Regions from separate parts of the Homo sapiens genome. Here region 1 is linked to region 2. Evidence: promoter capture Hi-C in 16 types of primary human blood cells and fetal thymus (Javierre and others, 2016). All regions are on one chromosome and are shown on one strand. Each heading gives the region's core, a stretch centred on a gene start or on the middle of the fragment in contact. The rest is flanking DNA. Distances are from core to core; before and after follow the strand shown.

Region 1 (2,700 bases), core at 201-2,700, 130 kb before region 2:
AGTCTCTATGTTGCCCAGGTTGGTCTGGAACTCCTGGGCTCAAGTGATCCTCTTGCCTCAGCCTCCCTCAGTGCTGGGATTACAGGTATAAGCCACCGCACTGGGTCTCTTTTTTATTTTTTTAGTTGTTAAGTGGCTAATTTCATTATAGTCTTGCCTAAAGATGGGCTGGGACCAGAGAAGTTTATGAGGTTGTCACTGATAACTTCCCACCAGAGATCGTTCACCCTGTCTCAACCAGACAAAATAACACAAGTCAGGGGGCGCTGGTTAGATCAGGATTTCTTTTTATTCCTCGTTGGTTTAAAATGGCTAATCAGAATAAAAAATAAAAGGGCCTCTTTGTGGAGGCTGGGATCTCCCCTATTTAGAGGTTAGAACCCAGGTATCCCCTCTACCCAGCACCATAGTGAGGTGGGCTGAGGGGTAACCCCCAAGGGACAATCGGAGGGGCCTAGGCCTGCCACTCCTTCTCTCTATCCCCCGTTTTTGGCATGTGATGAAAAATATTGCTTTTTGGATTCTTCTCTCCTGGCCTTGGATTTTAAAATCAAGTTAACTGTGTAAGCTAGGGGAGGCTCCAAGGGGCCAGTAGGAGCACACTCTAATCCCTCTCCCCCAAGGAGGGGATTATCCAATATTGTTTGAGCTAGGCCAAGTTATTTTCCTGATCTCCCACCACCACCAGTGTCTTGAAGTTTTGACCCCTTTCCTAGGGAAACTAAATGCCAATGAGCCTAGAAAACTAATTCTCCTCTCCAAGTCCTTCCCTCTTGTGACCAAAATTCCAGACTCACCTCTCCCCAGGCTTCTTCCTAATCACACTTAGCACCAGCAGAGGATGCTATTTCCGTAGTTAGTAACTGGGACAAATGAGAGGGAACCACAGGAAAAAGACTGACGTCTCCCCTCTTTTCCTGCTGGTCTGAGGAATGGGAAGAGTAAGATCCCCCTCCGTATATGTATCCCTCCCTCATTTTCCCATCCCAGGATAGATATATAATTTCTTTGATATTTATAATATATATATATATATATTATATGTACACACACACCTGGTAACGCAGAAGAGGAAAAAAATAGAATCCGTAACAATAATAAAAAAAATTATTTCTGGTTTAAAAATGATCTGGTTCCCTCCAGGGCGAGCAATTGCACAAATGTCCACTGAGTCTGGTCCAGGGATCAAGGAAGGGAAGGTCTTAAAAGATAAAAGGGGGGGTTGCTACCCCAGTCTCAGGGCCCCAACTCTCCGACTCCCCAAGCCTACTGCATTTTAGAAAACACTCCTCATCCTCTTGGAATCGGTGGTTTAAAAAATGTCCATGCACGGGAGGGGAGCCCCTTGAGGGAAGGAAGGTGGCCACCTGGGGCCCTTTGGTGTAGGCGCAGAGGCGTTGGGGAGGGGAGGTGCCGAAGGCTCACACCGAAATCTCATAGGTGGTACCACCAACCCCTGACACCTTCTTGACTCCTCCCCTCGTGGGGCTACTGAGAGGTGGCTGGCCTGGGCCAGGGGAGGCTGAGCCTAAGCTCTTGGGCTGCCCGTTGGATTTGCTGTAGGTGGTCTTCAGCTGTACTTCATCTCTGGAAAGAAGAGACAAGACGTAGGTGTCAGGAAATGGGACAGAAAACATTGGAAAGGGAGACAGTTTCAAAGGTTCAGAGAAAAAAATGATGTTCTTTTCTATATCCATACTTTCTTACCCAAACATTCCCCTTTATTGCCCTGCTTAAAATAAGCCTGATTCCCAATCTCTCCTATGTACTACTACTCTCTAGTAACAGCTATCACATGTACTTACTCCCAAGCAAATACTTTTAGGAAGATAGCATTATGGAAAAAGTATTAATCTTCAGTCTCTTAACAGGAATTGCCCATGAAGGCAGGTAGAGTCAAAGTGAAAATAAAGAGCTACCAGGATACCCCTGGGTCCACCTACATTAGGATGTACAACAGAAGCCCTGATAGCTTTTGCAGAGCAGTATGCTAATTTGAAATTGGCTAAGGGTCAGGATAGTACTAATACTTACTTGGGTGTCAGTAATGGCTGCAAGGCCACTTCTTCTGTCTCAGAGACACCAGGTTGGGCTTTTTGGCTGCTGTAAGACATCGATCGGCCCAGGTATGGGGCTGTTGGGCCTGGTTCAGGGGACCCTACTCCCCGGCCCCTTAGCCCATCTGGCTTGCCAAAACGGGGGACAGCTGGGCGTCCCAGTGGAGTCTTGCCCAAAGGTGATCTCTTTGAATCATCTGAGGAGGAACTAGTACGAGGGGCATGGCCCGAGCCTGGTGTTGACTGAATGCCTGAGTCCCCCAAGCCTGGTTCTTCCTCACGGCCCGGGAGTGGGGGTGACTGGCGCAGCAACTTCTCTCGTTCCTGGAGAGAGGCCACAATGTGGCGCGACAGATTGTCGTAACGGACTGGTGAGGGCTCTCGGTGTGTTGGGCCAGTTGGCACCAAACGTGGGTGCCTCTCAGCTTCCCGTTGCTGGGCCAGCCTGGCTGACAGGAAGGGAGAGGTATAGCCTAAAGGTGGGTCTGGCTCAGGCCCTGCCTGCACTGACTCAAAATCAGGGCTGTCTGAAGGTGTGAGCAAGCTGTCATAAGATAGGCTTCCATTGCGTGTCTGGTTGGCCAGGCTCTTATAGGAGGTGGAGGTGGTGCCCTCTGAACGAATGGATTGCAACTGGCCCAGC
Region 2 (2,700 bases), core at 194-2,693:
ACAATTAATCGTTCTGCAAAATCTGAGCAGAGAAGTCATTTGGTTTCAAAATACTTGGATAAAAACATTACGGTGGCTCACGCCTGTAATTCCAACACTTTGGGAGGCCGAGGCGGGTGGATTACTTGAAACCAGGAGCTCGAGACCCTGACTCTACTAAAAATACAAAAATGAGCCGGTCGTGGTGGCGCGCGCCTGTAAATCTCAGCTACTCAGGAGGCTGAGGCACGAGAACAGCTTGAACCGGGAGGCGGAGGTTGCAGTGAGCCGATATCGCCACTGAACTCCAGTCAGGGCGACAGTGAAACTCTGTCAGAAAAACAAGAAACAAAAAAACTGTGAGGTACTGAGATCACAAACTGGTGCTCAAAATATACTGATTTCCTTTCTCGTCTGGACTAAACGGGGGTAGGGAAGGGTGAGAAGGAGGGGATCGGCCCTCCCAACAAGTCTCATCTTCCCCAGATGCTGCTTGGTGCTCAGGGGCTGCAAGTACTCTGTCCTTGCACAGAGGGTTGGGGACTCCAGCTGTGCATGGGGGCACACATTAGGCCCACAGCTTGTAATGGACCAGTAGTAAAGTAAGGGAGGGGAAGCAGACTCTCTCTTGGAAAGGAGGCTCCTGAGTCCTTCTTGGGGCTTCCCCCACCAACTGTTTCCCAAACCAGCATACAGTAGGCACTTAGTAAATACTAAACCTAGTAAAGGACTGAATGATGGTAGACCGAACCCCCAAAGCAAAAGAGAAAGGGTCCAACAGCGCCTCCTTGCGGTGCTCTGCCCCAAGCCACGGGGAGAAACGTTGCAGCCCGCGCCGAACGCCGGGCAGCACAAAGGATCCCCGACTGCCGGGGAGCGGTGCTCGGAGGGCACAGGTCTACGCCATCCCCCACGCAGTTTCGGAGATGGAGCGCTGGGCCCATGGAGGGAAGGCGGCAGGCTCGGCGGCTCCGGCAGCTTGCTGGGGCAGGGGCTCAAGGCGGCAGTCCGATAGTGGAGGCCGCTGAGAACTGTCACGGAGCTGCGTCTGTACAGCGAGCATCCCTTATTTATTCAGGGCGAGTGTGTATTTGGGGCGGCGTGCAGGGGGCTGACAAAGACCGGAGAGCTCCCGGTGCGGCCGCCGGCGGAGCGAAGACTGGAACCCGTATGAGCGCCCCCCAGCGCCCCTGAGCGCTCGCCGCCGGTGCACGGCGCACCCCGCGGGAGGCAGGGATCAGCAAAGCCGTGCGCCCCGAGGCCCGCCCCCGTCTCCGCACAAAGACCGTGAGTCCCGGGTCCGAGCCTTCCGCGCGGGGATCGGGCGGTTGTCCGGCGGGTCGTCCTTCGACGGCCTCCTGGCCTCGCCGGAGCGGGTGCGGGGAGGCCCACGCAGCGACGGCTGGAGGAGGGGTGGGCGGGGCTGCCGGGGGTGGGGTCCCCGGGGCGGGGCGGGGCGCGCTGTGTCGCGGGTCGGAGCTCGGTCCTGCTGGAGGCCACGGGTGCCACACACTCGGTCCCGACATGATGGCGAGCATGCGAGTGGTGAAGGTAACCGCGTATAGGATGACCCCTTTCTCTTGGCTCCCCTCGCCTCCCGCATTCCCTCCTCCCTCCATCCCCTCCGCGGCTCTCCGAGCACATTTATTTATTTGTCTGGGCACCAGGGCTGGCTGAATCCCTGTCCTCCCCGCCCTCTACTCAGAGGAGGACTGGCCTGCAAGAGTGGCCAGAGCTGGGGTTTTGGGGGTTTGGAGGCCTCTGCTTGAGCCGTTCGCGTGGTGAAGATGAGCCGGCTCCCCCAAAACTGGTTTCAATTTCGCTTTTCCTGCCTGAAACTTGTGATAACAACTGGGTGCATCTCCAGTGCAGGAAAAGTCCTTGGCATCTTGGTGCCAGGCATTCTGCTACTGCTGGTGGTGGGTTATGAACACAGATGACCAGGATGAAGTCCTTGCCTTGGAATAAGCCCATAGCCCATCCCATAATTTGATGCCTGTATTACTAGAGTCCTGAGAAACACGGAATGCTGATTAGAATTTGGGACAAAGTTCCCTGAGTATTCTCTGGAGGAAAAGATGCGGAGGTGGACCTGGAAGGCCTCCTGGAGTAGGTGGCTTGCGTTCGTGAGTTCTACAAGTGTTGAATGCCTACATGTGCTGGCCCTGTTCTAGGAGGGGGGGGGGGGCGGGCAGAGATGAACACAAATCCGGCCCTTGTTGAATTTTGTTCCTATCAGGGACACAATTTGAAATAAGATCTGGAAGGATGGGGAGGGGGCAGTTTCCTCCAGAAGGTGGGAAAACCCAGGGTGTTTGGAGATGGATTAGGGAGGAAGGTGATCCTGGTGAAGTGAGTCTGGCACCCCAAGTCTTTCAGAAGTGCCCCTTCCAGTCTGCAGGGTGGAGGGGCAGGCTCTAGGAAGAGGGTGCCTGCTACCCTCAGCCTCTGAGAAGAAAATGGCCTCAGACTGGGATGCCCAGAGCAGGCTTGGCCTAGATACTAAATCTGGAGGTTGGCAGCAAAATGAGGCAGAGGGTCTTTCCAGCCAAGTGGAAGAGAGATGGGAGCCAGAATTTATTGCATTGGAACCATTACATGCCAAACGGTTTACATGGTTATTTCATCTAATTCGCACAGCAGTTCTGTGAGATAAGTAATATATACCCGCATTTTACAAATGAGGAAATTGAGGCACAGAGGAAATAACTTGCTTGTCCA

Evidence for each region. Contacts are between HindIII fragments. The CHiCAGO score rates a contact against its expected background, and 5 or more counts as called.
Region 1: a contact is called between a fragment that was not itself captured here and the fragment with the promoter of UBE2L6 in region 2, in 1 of 17 cell types (neutrophils). The highest score is 5.7, in neutrophils.

The regions. Positions count from the first base shown.
Region 1 is chr11:57,698,753-57,701,452 of GRCh38, reverse strand. It overlaps ZDHHC5 (zDHHC palmitoyltransferase 5), which reads right to left. Exons shown (of 12, transcript NM_015457.3): 11 at 2,035-2,700; 12 at 271-1,587. The coding sequence ends at 1,422. Among named protein-coding and RNA genes, the nearest start is that of MED19, 12 kb to the left of the region's middle. The HindIII fragment of the contact is 3,103 bases long and covers 1-2,700 here.
Region 2 is chr11:57,566,415-57,569,114 of GRCh38, reverse strand. It overlaps UBE2L6 (ubiquitin conjugating enzyme E2 L6), which reads left to right and starts at 1,443. Exons shown (of 4, transcript NM_004223.5): 1 at 1,443-1,530. The coding sequence starts at 1,504. RefSeq lists a silencer at 1,080-1,439 and an enhancer at 2,693-2,700. The HindIII fragment of the contact is 19,025 bases long and covers 1-2,700 here.